Linked DNA regions of Homo sapiens: region 2 is linked to region 1. The links are contacts of gene promoters, found by promoter capture Hi-C in human tissues and cell types (Jung and others, 2019). All regions are on one chromosome and are shown on one strand. The core of a region is centred on a gene start or on the middle of the fragment in contact, and the rest is flanking DNA. Distances in the headings are between cores, read along the strand shown. Region 1 holds the start of PAIP2 (poly(A) binding protein interacting protein 2). Region 2 overlaps SIL1 (SIL1 nucleotide exchange factor).

Region 1 (5,762 bases), core at 2,370-4,869:
TTCCTTTGGCAGTTAAAGAGGATCGCAACATTTTTCAATTGGTCTGTTTTCCACTCTGAAGTCTGTGAAAAGCACCGAATTTTTTGTTTTACTATTTGGCACAGTAAGGTAACGATTAAAAAACATGGGCTCTGGGCTGGGCGCGGTGGCTCACACCTGTAATCCCAGCACTTTGGGAGGCCAAGGCCGTTGGATCACGAGGTCAGGAGATCGAGACCATCCTGGCTAACACGGTGAAACCCCGTCTCTATTAAAAATACAAAAACAAAAGTAGCCAGGTGTGGTGTCGGGTGCAGCTACTCAGGAGGCTGAGGCAGAAGAATGGCATGAACCCTGGAGGTGGAGCGTGCAGTGAGCCGAGATCGCGCCACTGCACTCCAGCCTGGGCAACAGAGCAAGACTCCGTTTCAAAAACAACAACAACAACAACAACAACAAAAACCCATGGGCTCTGGAACCAGGCTGCTTTACTAACTGTGTGACCATGGCAAGTTACTTAACCTGAGTCTCGGTTTCCTCATCTGTTGCATGGGAATTAATAATAGTACCTAGTTAGAGAACCTAGCACATAACAATTGGCATTAACTATCTCGGTGATTAAATATTTAGGGCAGTTAAAGGTCTCTAGACCAAGGGACAAGGTAAAAATTAGAGATCTTAAATCTACAGAGGTGAAACAATGTCACAAGAAAATCCCAAAGTCTACCCTAATCTCAACTGTAGTGTAACAAGGGTAATTAGGTGAGAGCAAGAATGGGTCATCCTAACTGATAAAAGCTCAAGTACATTAGAAATGCCACCCAAATTTATACAAACTGATATAAGAAGCAGAGGCTATTCAAATTCTCCAAACGTGTGCCCATCCAATATGGTGGCCATCGGCTACACAGATCTATTTAATTAAAATTTAGTTCTTCATTTACACTAGCCACATCTCAAGTGCTCATAACCACACACAGTACCTACATCATTGGACAGCACCACTCTAAACAATGAAAAAATTAAGAAAAAAGGGAGTTTTTTGGAACTGAACCTTAGCCTATATCAAATGCAAACTATTCATGCACCTGTGCAACAGGTGGTCTAGATCACAAAGGCAATGACTTGGACAACTTTAATCTTAGACCACAGTCAGAAGACGTAGGTTCAAATCCCAGCTATGCTACATAGCCACCTTAAAGTACCCTAGACCTGTCACTAAATCACACAGCACCACATAATGGTTAAGAGCATAGAATCTCTGGACTATCTGGATTTGAATTCCGACTATCATAGCTCTGTGACATTGGGAAAGTTACTTCACGTCTCATTTGTTATCTTCATTTTACAGTAGGGCCTACCTTCTAGCTATGTTGTGGATCAAATTAGTTAATATTTGTAAAGGCAATGAGAACAATGCCTGGCATTATTGTTATATAAATATTTGCTAAATAAAAATAATCTTTCAGGCTTCTATTTCTTTAATTCCCAAATGGGCAAGATAAAACTTGCTCTGTTGGGAGGCCGACGGGGGCGGATCACAAAGTCAGGAGATCGAGACCATCCTGGCTAACACGGTGAAACCCTGTCTCTACTAAAAATACAAAAAATTAGCCGGCGTGGTGGCAAGCGCCTGTAGTCCCAGCTACTAGGGAGGCGGAGGCAGGAGAATCGCTTGAACCCGGGGAGGCGGAGGTTGCAGTGAGCCAATTGCGCCACTGCACTCCAGCACTCCAGCCTGGCGACAGAGTGAGACTCCATCTCAAAAAAAAAAAAAAAAAAAAACTTGCTCTGCCCATTTCACGTTTCATGATAATGAATGACAATAGGATGTAAATTACAAGAAAATGTTTTAAAAGCACAAAAGGTTATTAGATTACAAGGGGGCAGAGGTCTTGCCTTCCACATTCTTTAATCTCCCACAGTATCAACCAAATTGCTGTGCTAAGTGTTCAAGTTTTTCACTAAAACTGGAGCATCACACTCTAGAGTCATAAAGTGATAAACCTGAATAAAGTGCAGAGTGCTTATTTAAGGAAAAGCCTGCTATAAACTCATTCTGACCAAAAGAGGGTGAAATTACCTACCTCAATTTGAGTTCCTAAGGAGCAACGTGCACAGCCTTGAATCATTAGAGGAAATCTCCATTCCCTAACCTCCATCCCTTAAAGAAACACAAGTGGGTTCTATAGTTCTTGTCAAGTTACCTATCCTGTGATTTTGTGTGTGTGTGAAAAAGTTTTATTCAAGTTCACAACTGACAAGTAGTATAAACAGACTAATTTTCCCCAAATATCCTGTCTTTCACTAACTGGAAACAGAATCACAAAAGCAAATAGTGGAGTCTCATTAAAAATTATTGTAGAGAACTTTTACTTATTGCAAACACAACCTACGCCAGAAGAAATTTCAAAAGCGACTTAATGAAAATATAAACCAACACCTGATCTAACTGTGCTAATGAAATCTGTGAAAAAACAATGCCACCACGTTTCAACATTAGCCAGCACACCCAACATGAACATCTACTTTCCGTTGAAATAAACGTCAAAGGCTGTCAGCTGCTACACCTTCCAAGGCAAATTGGAAGCCAAATTCTTTCTAGAGTTTGGGGTTTTTATGAGTTGATACGGGTGCCAAATCAGGGAAAAAAGAAACAAAAGGAAGCAGGTAAGACCCCTTTTAGGAGTCCCTAAAAAATATCACTGCTGGCTGCTGCAACAAATGTTTTGAAGACCTAAGTTCACCACAAGCCTTATTTATTTCTGGTGGCGATGGTGGGGAAGGAGGAGAGTAAGCACAGAAAATTATTAAAAGGTAAGAGGACCTTAAAGTTCATCTAACTCAACGCCCTCCTAGGGTAAGGGTTCCCAGTACCCCAAAGGTTCTTTTTTCCAGGGCATGAGCTGCAATACAACCAAAAATAAGGGGTAGCGATGGCGAAGAAACGGGAGAAAGACGATCTTCTGATCAGGCCCGTCGACGGTTGCAGCGTTCCCCCAAGACGCCAAGAGCCCGCCAGTCCCTCCGCCCCTCTCTCCCCAAACCCCAGCCTCGGCTGAGGCGCGCACGCGCAGCAAGTAGGGGCTGCGCGTGGCGACGCGCAGGCGTAAAGTGGGTAGAAACAATAAGCTTTGTTGCCGAGGCGGTGGGAGGGGGGCAGGGGAAAGGGTACCCGGCGGAGGGATAAAGGACCGGGAGAATGAGGAACAGGAGAAAGTGCTATCCCGGCAACCCTCGCGCCACTGAGGACCCGGATAGAGAGCTGCGAGATCCAAATCATTAATAATGACAATGAAAAAAAAGCGACGGCCATGTCTCGGAGAAGACAGAGACGAAGTCGGCCCAAGCTCATCCCTCAGACTTGGTGGAAAGAGGCAATGAACAACGGAGGCCGCAATGGACTCGGTGGCCAACCACCCAGGGAACCCTTTAGGCCCCTCTGCCGTCGCCGACTTGCTGTCCCTCGACCTCCGCACCCCTGTCGCCACTCTGCCCGAGAGGACCCCTCACCCAATGCACAGCAGCGGGGACGGCAGCCAACGAATCCTGTCGGCCTCCGCGGATCTCCACAGGCAGCGCCGCTCCCCCGCTCGACGTGCGCTTCGCCCGCCGCCTCCCTTCTCCAGTCCAAACAAACACCCCAGCCCGGAAGTGACTTCACTTCCGTCGCCGCCAACCCCGCCCTCTTGTTCTGTCAGCTCTGCCCTCCGAAGCCACTAGAGAGCGCGCGCGAGAACGCGCGACCCCGAAGTCTGTCTCCAAGGCTGCACACGTGTGCACGCGCAGCAGCCTTTCCAGCGCGCCCCTACGGCCGGCTGCCGGGTGTAGCAGGAACGCTGTCGCACGTTCTCTCTGGAAGGCAGGAATGGGGGCGTACCACTGTTCCCACACCCGCCCATCTTCCGAGAATGATGATATGCAATGAGTGAGGCAGCTGGGGACTGAAGAGCACCCTGACAAGATACACAGGCGTGGACTTTCACAGACATCACACACCCCCCCAAAAACGTAATATTTAGGTAATGACATAGCACACACATACCCATACACACCCCAAGAATGATACACAATGTCACACAAACAGCGACATGCACCGAGTCACGTCAAGATCCTGACACAGAAAAATAATAAACTAAGGGAAATCACAGAGGCGTACTAAATGATATGCAAACATCCGCACTCAGACATGTGCAGGCACAAAAACACACTTTTTGAAGCTGGATGCAAACGCAAAATACAAATACATGTGCAACTTCTTTGTGGCTAAAGGAGGAAATGCCCTGTCCACACAGGATAGAAAAGTGTGACCTCCGGGTTCAAGAATTTTGTAGTCCGTGATCCTGGGTGCACTGGCCCCATAGTTATTCTTACCCATGCTTCCTTCCTGTCATCGTTGACAAGCCCCAAGATATATTTCTAGTGACACTAAGCAATGTAAAGAAGAGAGTATGTTTTTGTTTTTTTGTTTTGTTTTGTTTTTTTGAGGCGGAGTCTGGCTCTCTTGCCCAGGCTGGAGTGCAGTGGCGCCATCTCGGCTCACTGCAACCTCCGCCTCCCGGGTTCAAGAGATTCTCCTGCCACAGCCTCCCAAGTAGCTGGGACTACAGGCGCACGCCAGCACACCCGGCCAATTTTTGTACTTTTAGTAGAGATAGGGGTTTCACCGTGTTGGCCAGGATGGTCTCGATCTCCTGACCTCGTGATCCACCCGCCTCCGCCTCTCAAAGTGCTAGGATTACAGGTGTGAGCCACCGCACCCGGCCGAGAGTATGTGTTTTACAAATCTGGATGTTCAAATGTGTAGATACTATCTTTGAAAAAGGGACACAAACTAATTTCTTCCCTTTGGAGAGGGCAAATGACCGACTAGGAAATGGGTGCAAATAACTATCCTTTTCTCCTGAAAAATTTGAATCTTTTAAAAACTATATGCTTGTAGTATTTACTAAGACAAAAAATTCCCTCCATGGGAAGGCTTGAATTTAGAAACCGGGTTGTTCCTCTTCAGAGCTATTTCATTCACTGAATACTCTTCTGGGCCAGTCCAAAGCCCCAAAGAAATGAATGCAGATGGTTCTGCCCTAGCTCCTGGGTCAACCACCTTGGCAGCACTTACAGATCTATATTCTAAACTGTGAAGATAAGCTATCAATCTGAGGCTGAAGGAAGTCTGAACATAACAAAATAGGTATTTATATAGTCTGAGATGACTCAGACTCTCTTTTTAAGACACAGTCTTCCATCACCCAGGCTGGAGTGCAGTGGCATGATCACGGTTCACTACAGCCGCAACCTCCCTGGCTCAAGCAATCCTCAAACCTCAGCTTGCAAAGTAGCTGAGACCACAGGTGTGTACCACCATGCCTGGCTAATTTTTGAATTTTTTGTAGAAATGAGGTTTTGCCATATTGCCCAGGCTGGTCTTGAACTCCTGGGCTCAAATGATCTGCCCGCTTCAGCTTCCCAAGGTGCTGGGATTACAGCCGTGAGCCACAGGGCCTGGCCTAACCCAGACTCTCTTAAAAGGTAAGCATGAGGCCAGGTGCGGTGGCTCACACCTGTAATCCCAGCACTTTGGGAGGCTGAGGCGGGCAGATCATGAGGTCAGGAGTTTGAGACCAGCCTGGCCAACATGGTGAAACCCTATCTCTAATAAAAATACAAAAATTAGCCGGATGTGGTGGCACATGCCTGTAGTCTCAGCTACCCGCGAGGCTGAGGCAGGAGAATCGCTTGAACCCGGGAGGAGGAGGTTGCGGTGAGCCCAGAGCATGCCATTG
Region 2 (5,566 bases), core at 1,988-4,487, 350 kb after region 1:
TGTAATTTGAATATTTCTAGCATAAAGAAAAGACAAGGTGGGGCGTGGTGGCTCATGCCTGTAATCCCAGCACTTTGGGAGGCCAAGGTGGGCGGATCACCTGAGGTCGGGAGTTTGAGACCAGCCTGACCAACATGGAGAAACCCTGTCTCTACTAAAACAAAATTAGCCAGGCGTGGTGGTGCATGCCTGTAATCCCAGCTACTTGGGAGGCTGAGGCAGAATTTGTTGAACCTGGGAGGCAGAGGTTGTGGTGAGCCGAGATCACGCCATTACACTCCAGCCTGGGCAACAAGAGTGAAACTCTGTCTCAAAAAAAAAAAAAAGATGAATATTTAAGGTGATAGATATCCCAATTATACTGATTTGATATTTACAAATTATATGAATGTAATAAATAGCACATGTATCCCATGCATGCCTATGTTCATTACAGCACTATTCACAATAGCAAAGACATGGAATCAACCCAAATGCCCATCAGTGATAGACTGGATAAAGAAAATGTGGTACATATGCAGCTGTAAAAAGGAACAAGATCATGTCCTTTGCAGGACATGAATGGAGCTCGAAGCCATTATCCTCAGCAAACTAATGCAAAAACAGAAAACCAAACACCACATATTATCACTTATAAGTGGGAGCTGAACAATGAGAACACATGGACACAGGAAGAGGAACAACATACACTGGAACCTGTTGGGGTGGTTGGCTGGGGGGCAAGAGGTGGGAGAGCATCAGGATAAATAGTTAATGCATGCAGGGCTTAATACCTAGGTGATGGGCTGATAGGTGCAGCAAACCACCATGGCACATGTTTACATGTAACAAACTTGCATGTCCTGTACGTGTGTCCCGGAAATTAAATTTATTAAAAATTTATTACACGTATCCCCAAAATATGTACATCTATTATTTATTAATTTAAAAATTGCCTTGGATATTTTTGGCGCTTTACTCTTCCATATGGATTTTAGGCATACTCTGTGAGGCTCAACAAAACACTGGATATTTAAGCTAGAATGCAGTAAATGTATAGATTAATTTATGAGAATTAACATATTTATAAAATGTGTTTCTGTTCATGAACATGATATGTCTTTCCAGTTAGATGGTCTCACATCTTTTAATAAAACATCATAATTTTTTCCATATAGGTAGTGAATCAATCTCTTTTGTTATGCCTAATTACCTCATAGTATTTGTTATTGTAAAGAGGTTAATTTTCAAGTTTTTATTTTATAATTGTTTGTTGCTGGTATATGACTTTATAGCCAACAAACTTGCTGATGTCTTATTAGTTCTAATAGTTTACATTTTTTCTTGGATGTTATTTGTAGATAATCGTATCATTTAATATAAAAATAATTTTGTTTCTTTTCAATCTTTATCCTCCATTTCTCTTTCTTATTGCAATGTCTAGCACCTTTAATACAGTGTTTATTGAAATACTAGTAGACATCCTTATCCTTTTCCTGTCTTTAAAGGGAATGATTCTAATATTTTACCACTAAATATGATATCTTCCATAGGTTGATGAATTTATTTATATATTATCTAGTAGTGAATCATCCTTACATTTCTGAAATAAATGTTTTTGGTCATTGTATTAGTTATCTATTGCTATGTAACAAATTCTCACAAACTTAGTGGCTTAAAACAATGCACACTTATTATATTACACTTTCTGTAGGTCAGGAGTCCAAGTGTGACTTTGTCGGGTCCTCTGCATTGCCGTAGTCCAAGGTGTCAGCTGGAGCTAGGGTCTAATATGGCACTTGACTGGGAAGCATTTCCTTTTAAACTGATGTGGTTGTTGGCAGAGTTCAGTTCTTTGCAGGCTGTCAGATTAAAGACCTTAGTTTGTTGCTGGTGGGAGGCTGCCCTCAGTTCCTTGCCACATGGCTATCTCCATAAGCAGCTCACAACATGGCAGCCTGCTTCTTCAGAGCCAGCAAGGGAGAGTGTTTCTCAGCAAAACAGATGTTACCGTCTTACGTAGTGTAATCACATACACATAGTCGTATATATCTTGTCACCTTTGCCGTATTCCATTGGTTGGAAGCATGTCATATTCCCACACCCAATGGGAGGTAATTACACAAGGATGCGTCTGGCTGTGGCCTAGACATCATATTTCTGGAAGTGACAGAAAATGACATAATGGGATAGATATTTATTTTTTCCATGTAAACAGCATCTTCAGGTCAGCAGCTTTGGGTTGGTGTGGCAACTGTATTGTGGGTAGACTCTTGGGTCTTGAGTTCCTTCGAGTCACACTAGGATGCCATCCCTAAGGAATAGCCCTTCCTCATCATCCCAGATGGCAAGATCTGCATTCCAGGGAGCAGGGTGGAAGGAGCGACATAGAAGAGGAGGTAAAGGGCACTTAAAAATCTCTTAAGGGGATCCCAGAAGCTGTCAAATGATGCTTCTGCTTATAATCTGTTGGCCAAAACGTAGTGCCTTGGCCATACCTCCCTGCAAAGGAGGCCGAGAAATATAGTCTTTATACTTTATTTGCCCAGCAAAAATTCTGCTACTGTGGAAGAATGGGAGAACAGATTGTGGGGGACCACTAGCAGCTTCCATCTCAGCTAGCTTTCAGTTACAAAAGAAAAAGTTTCTCTTTTCTCTTGGCTCTGGAATAGTTTAGCATAAGATTATTTATTTATATTTTTTTAATTATTATTTTCTAAATTTTACTTTTTTCAATAGTTTTTTGGGAACAGGTGGTGTTTAGTTGCCTGGATAAGTTCTTTAGTGGTGATTTCTGAGATTTTGGTGCACCTGTCACCAGAACAGTGTACACTATACCCAATGTGTGTAGTCTTTTATCCCTCACCCCCTCCCACCCTTCCCCGAGTCCCCAAAGTCCATTATATAATTCTTAGGCCTTTGTGTCCTTGTAGTTTAGCGCCCAAGGATTATTTATTTTTTTGATGTTTGAAAAGATAACCTGAAAAATTACCAATTACTCTATTTCTTATGTGTAGAAGAGCATAGCATACCAAGAGAGTACTGGACTCACCTGGACCAGGTATGCTGTGGATATGAGAAAGGCTGGCTGTGGAAAAGGAGCCTGCTAGGGGCAGGGGCTTTACATATACTGTCTCATTTAATCCTCACAACAACTGCCAGAGTGAGGGGTAGGATTTTGGCTTCACAGAGGAGGGTCCTCACCCAAGAGCATGCAGTTAACTTATGGGATGGTTACACTTCAAACCTAAAGCATTGATGTCAAAGCCCATGTTCTTTCTATAGTTTGAAGAGCTAGCAGACTCTCTCAGAAAGGGCCATCTCTCTGAAGGTCTTGAGTGGGGTTCCTAGTCTCTTTCTTCATCACTCACACAAGCTTTTGACTTGGATATCTGGAGGATATAGGTAATGATAGGGAGGGAGCAGGTGGGATTTGTGGCAAGGTCTCCTCATTCAGCCTAGCACCCATAGTCGTGTAGTGATTGCCATGGGACTCAGTACATCCGTTCTGCACCTTGCTTTCCTTCCATGGTCTGCGTATGCATTAGAAGGTGTACAGTGGGCACTGACTGGAGTGAGCCTCATCAGGAGTCCAGTACCTACAGGCTTCTGCCCTTTGGCAGCAAACCTGAAAGAGAGCTCTGACCAGCCTTTTTAGAAATAGCCCTGATTTAACTAGAGTAAGCATGCTTCTAAACTCTGCTGCTATGGTCCATTTTTTGGATCAAGCCCCTTCTGGATGGGTTCTCTGTGATATTTAAGTCACAAGGACATAGATGGGGAACCTTCTCCGTTGTATTTCTTCTCTTCTCTCCTTCTGCCAAATACTTTTGAGTGTTTGTTTGTTAAATTCTGATCAGTTAGATGTATTCTCTCCCAGCAGCTCTTCTTCTGTAACCATAGTTCAATACTTAAAAGTGGAGAATCTGTCAAGGATAGAGGGAGGGCAACTATTGAAGGATGGCAGGAAATATCGACCCTGTACCCTGATGATGACCAGCCCTGCTTTGCAGCCTGTGCTGCCTGGATAGAAGGCCTGCTGGGGGAGTCTTGGGGCTTTTTTAGGGAGTTAGTGTATCCCATTATCTCAGAATGTGTGCAAAATGTGGAATGAACAGCCCTGAGTAAAAGAGGCTGTCATGTGGCTGTGGAACAGAAGGATTTCCTTGTATTGGACAATCCATAATCCCTTTGTTTCAGGGAAATCTCTAAGACTGACTTCCCATGCTGCCTCCCAGCCCCTACTGCATTTCACTTGCATACACAGCCTTGAGGTCTAAAGCTAATTTATTTCTATCCCATTTTCTCTCAGCTTTTATTCTGCATTTAATCAGTTGCCTTGGTCCCACAGCTACTTCAGCCAGGCTGCTGGGAAAAGATTATAGCTGGCCCTGGTGCCCCAGCCTCCATCCAGAGCATCTGGCCAACACGCCAGAAAACAGAATGTCTCAGGCCTTCCTACTCTTTCTGACTGGCAATTGCAGGATGGTGTAGGCTATAGAGACTCCTGTCATGAAGCCTTCATTTTTCAGATCACCCGGAAAAAGGAAAGGATAAAGACTGTTTTAAAAAGCCGGCTGGGGGTGGGGCATGGTGGCTAACGCCTGTAATCCCAACACTTTAGGAAGCTGAGGCAGGCGGATCACCTGAGGCTGGGAGTTTGAGACGAGCCTGGCCAACATGGCAAAACCCCGTCTCTACTAAAAATACAAAAATTAGACAGATGTGATGATGGGTGCCTGTAATCCCAGCTACTTGGGAGGCTAAGGCAGGAGAATCGCTTGAACCCAGGAGGTAGAGGTTGCGGTGAGCCGAGATCGCGCCACTGGACTTCAGCAAGACTCTGTCACGAAGAAAAGAAAAGCCAGCTGGGGCCTGTTTGGGGCTCATGCCTCTAATCCTAGCACTTTGTGAGACTGAGGTGAGAGGATCACTTGAGCCCTGGAATTTGGGACCAGCCTGGACAAAATAGTGAGATCCCATCTCTAACAAAAACAACAAAATTATCCAGGCATGGTTGGAGACTGAAGTGGGAGGATCCCTTGAACCTGGGAGGTCGAGGCTGCAGTGAGCCATGATAACGCCACTGGACTCCAGCCTGGGCAGCAGAATGAAACCCTGTCTCAAAATAAATAAAAAGCCAGCTGGAAAGCATCTAGAAAATAGAATGAAAGTCATCTGCCCAATTCCCAGCAGTCCTCCCCAGGTTACCTTCTACGGTTATCTGGTCATTTAGATTCTCATGGCAAGGAGTTGAGACTAAAGGCTGCCCTGGTTAGAGTTGCTGTTTGGCATTAGACTGGGATCTCTGTGGGCATCCTAGGACAACCTTCCCTCATAGTGGTCACACTGGTGCCTTTGCTCTGAGCAAGTGTCTTTCCACAGTCCTCATTGTCTAGATGGAAAACTCTTGGGTAAGTGTACGCTCACATTGGGTTGGATACAAAGATTCAAAGAGAAGCAAAGGCCAAAGCAAAAAAATGGGACCAGGAGTAAACTTGCTGGGCGGTCCAGGAAGAGAGGGCAGGAAGACGCAAGCCCTGGTGCCTACCTGTGACCCTTAACGTGAAATTCCTGTCGCACGCAT

What was found. The method cuts DNA at HindIII sites, captures the fragments that hold promoters and counts their contacts. A contact is called where the count stands out against the background at its distance.
Region 2: a fragment that was not itself captured here is called in contact with the fragment with the promoter of PAIP2 in region 1 in 1 of the 25 tissues and cell types used here (liver).

What each region holds. Positions count from the first base shown.
Region 1 is chr5:139,339,711-139,345,472 of GRCh38, reverse strand. PAIP2 (poly(A) binding protein interacting protein 2) reads right to left here and starts at 3,619. Exons shown (of 4, transcript NM_016480.5): 1 at 3,493-3,619. The HindIII fragment of the contact is 8,924 bases long and covers 1-5,762 here.
Region 2 is chr5:138,990,011-138,995,576 of GRCh38, reverse strand. The region is part of intron 7 of SIL1 (SIL1 nucleotide exchange factor); the gene reads left to right. Among named protein-coding and RNA genes, the nearest start is that of LRRTM2, 120 kb to the right of the region's middle. The HindIII fragment of the contact is 6,948 bases long and covers 1-5,566 here.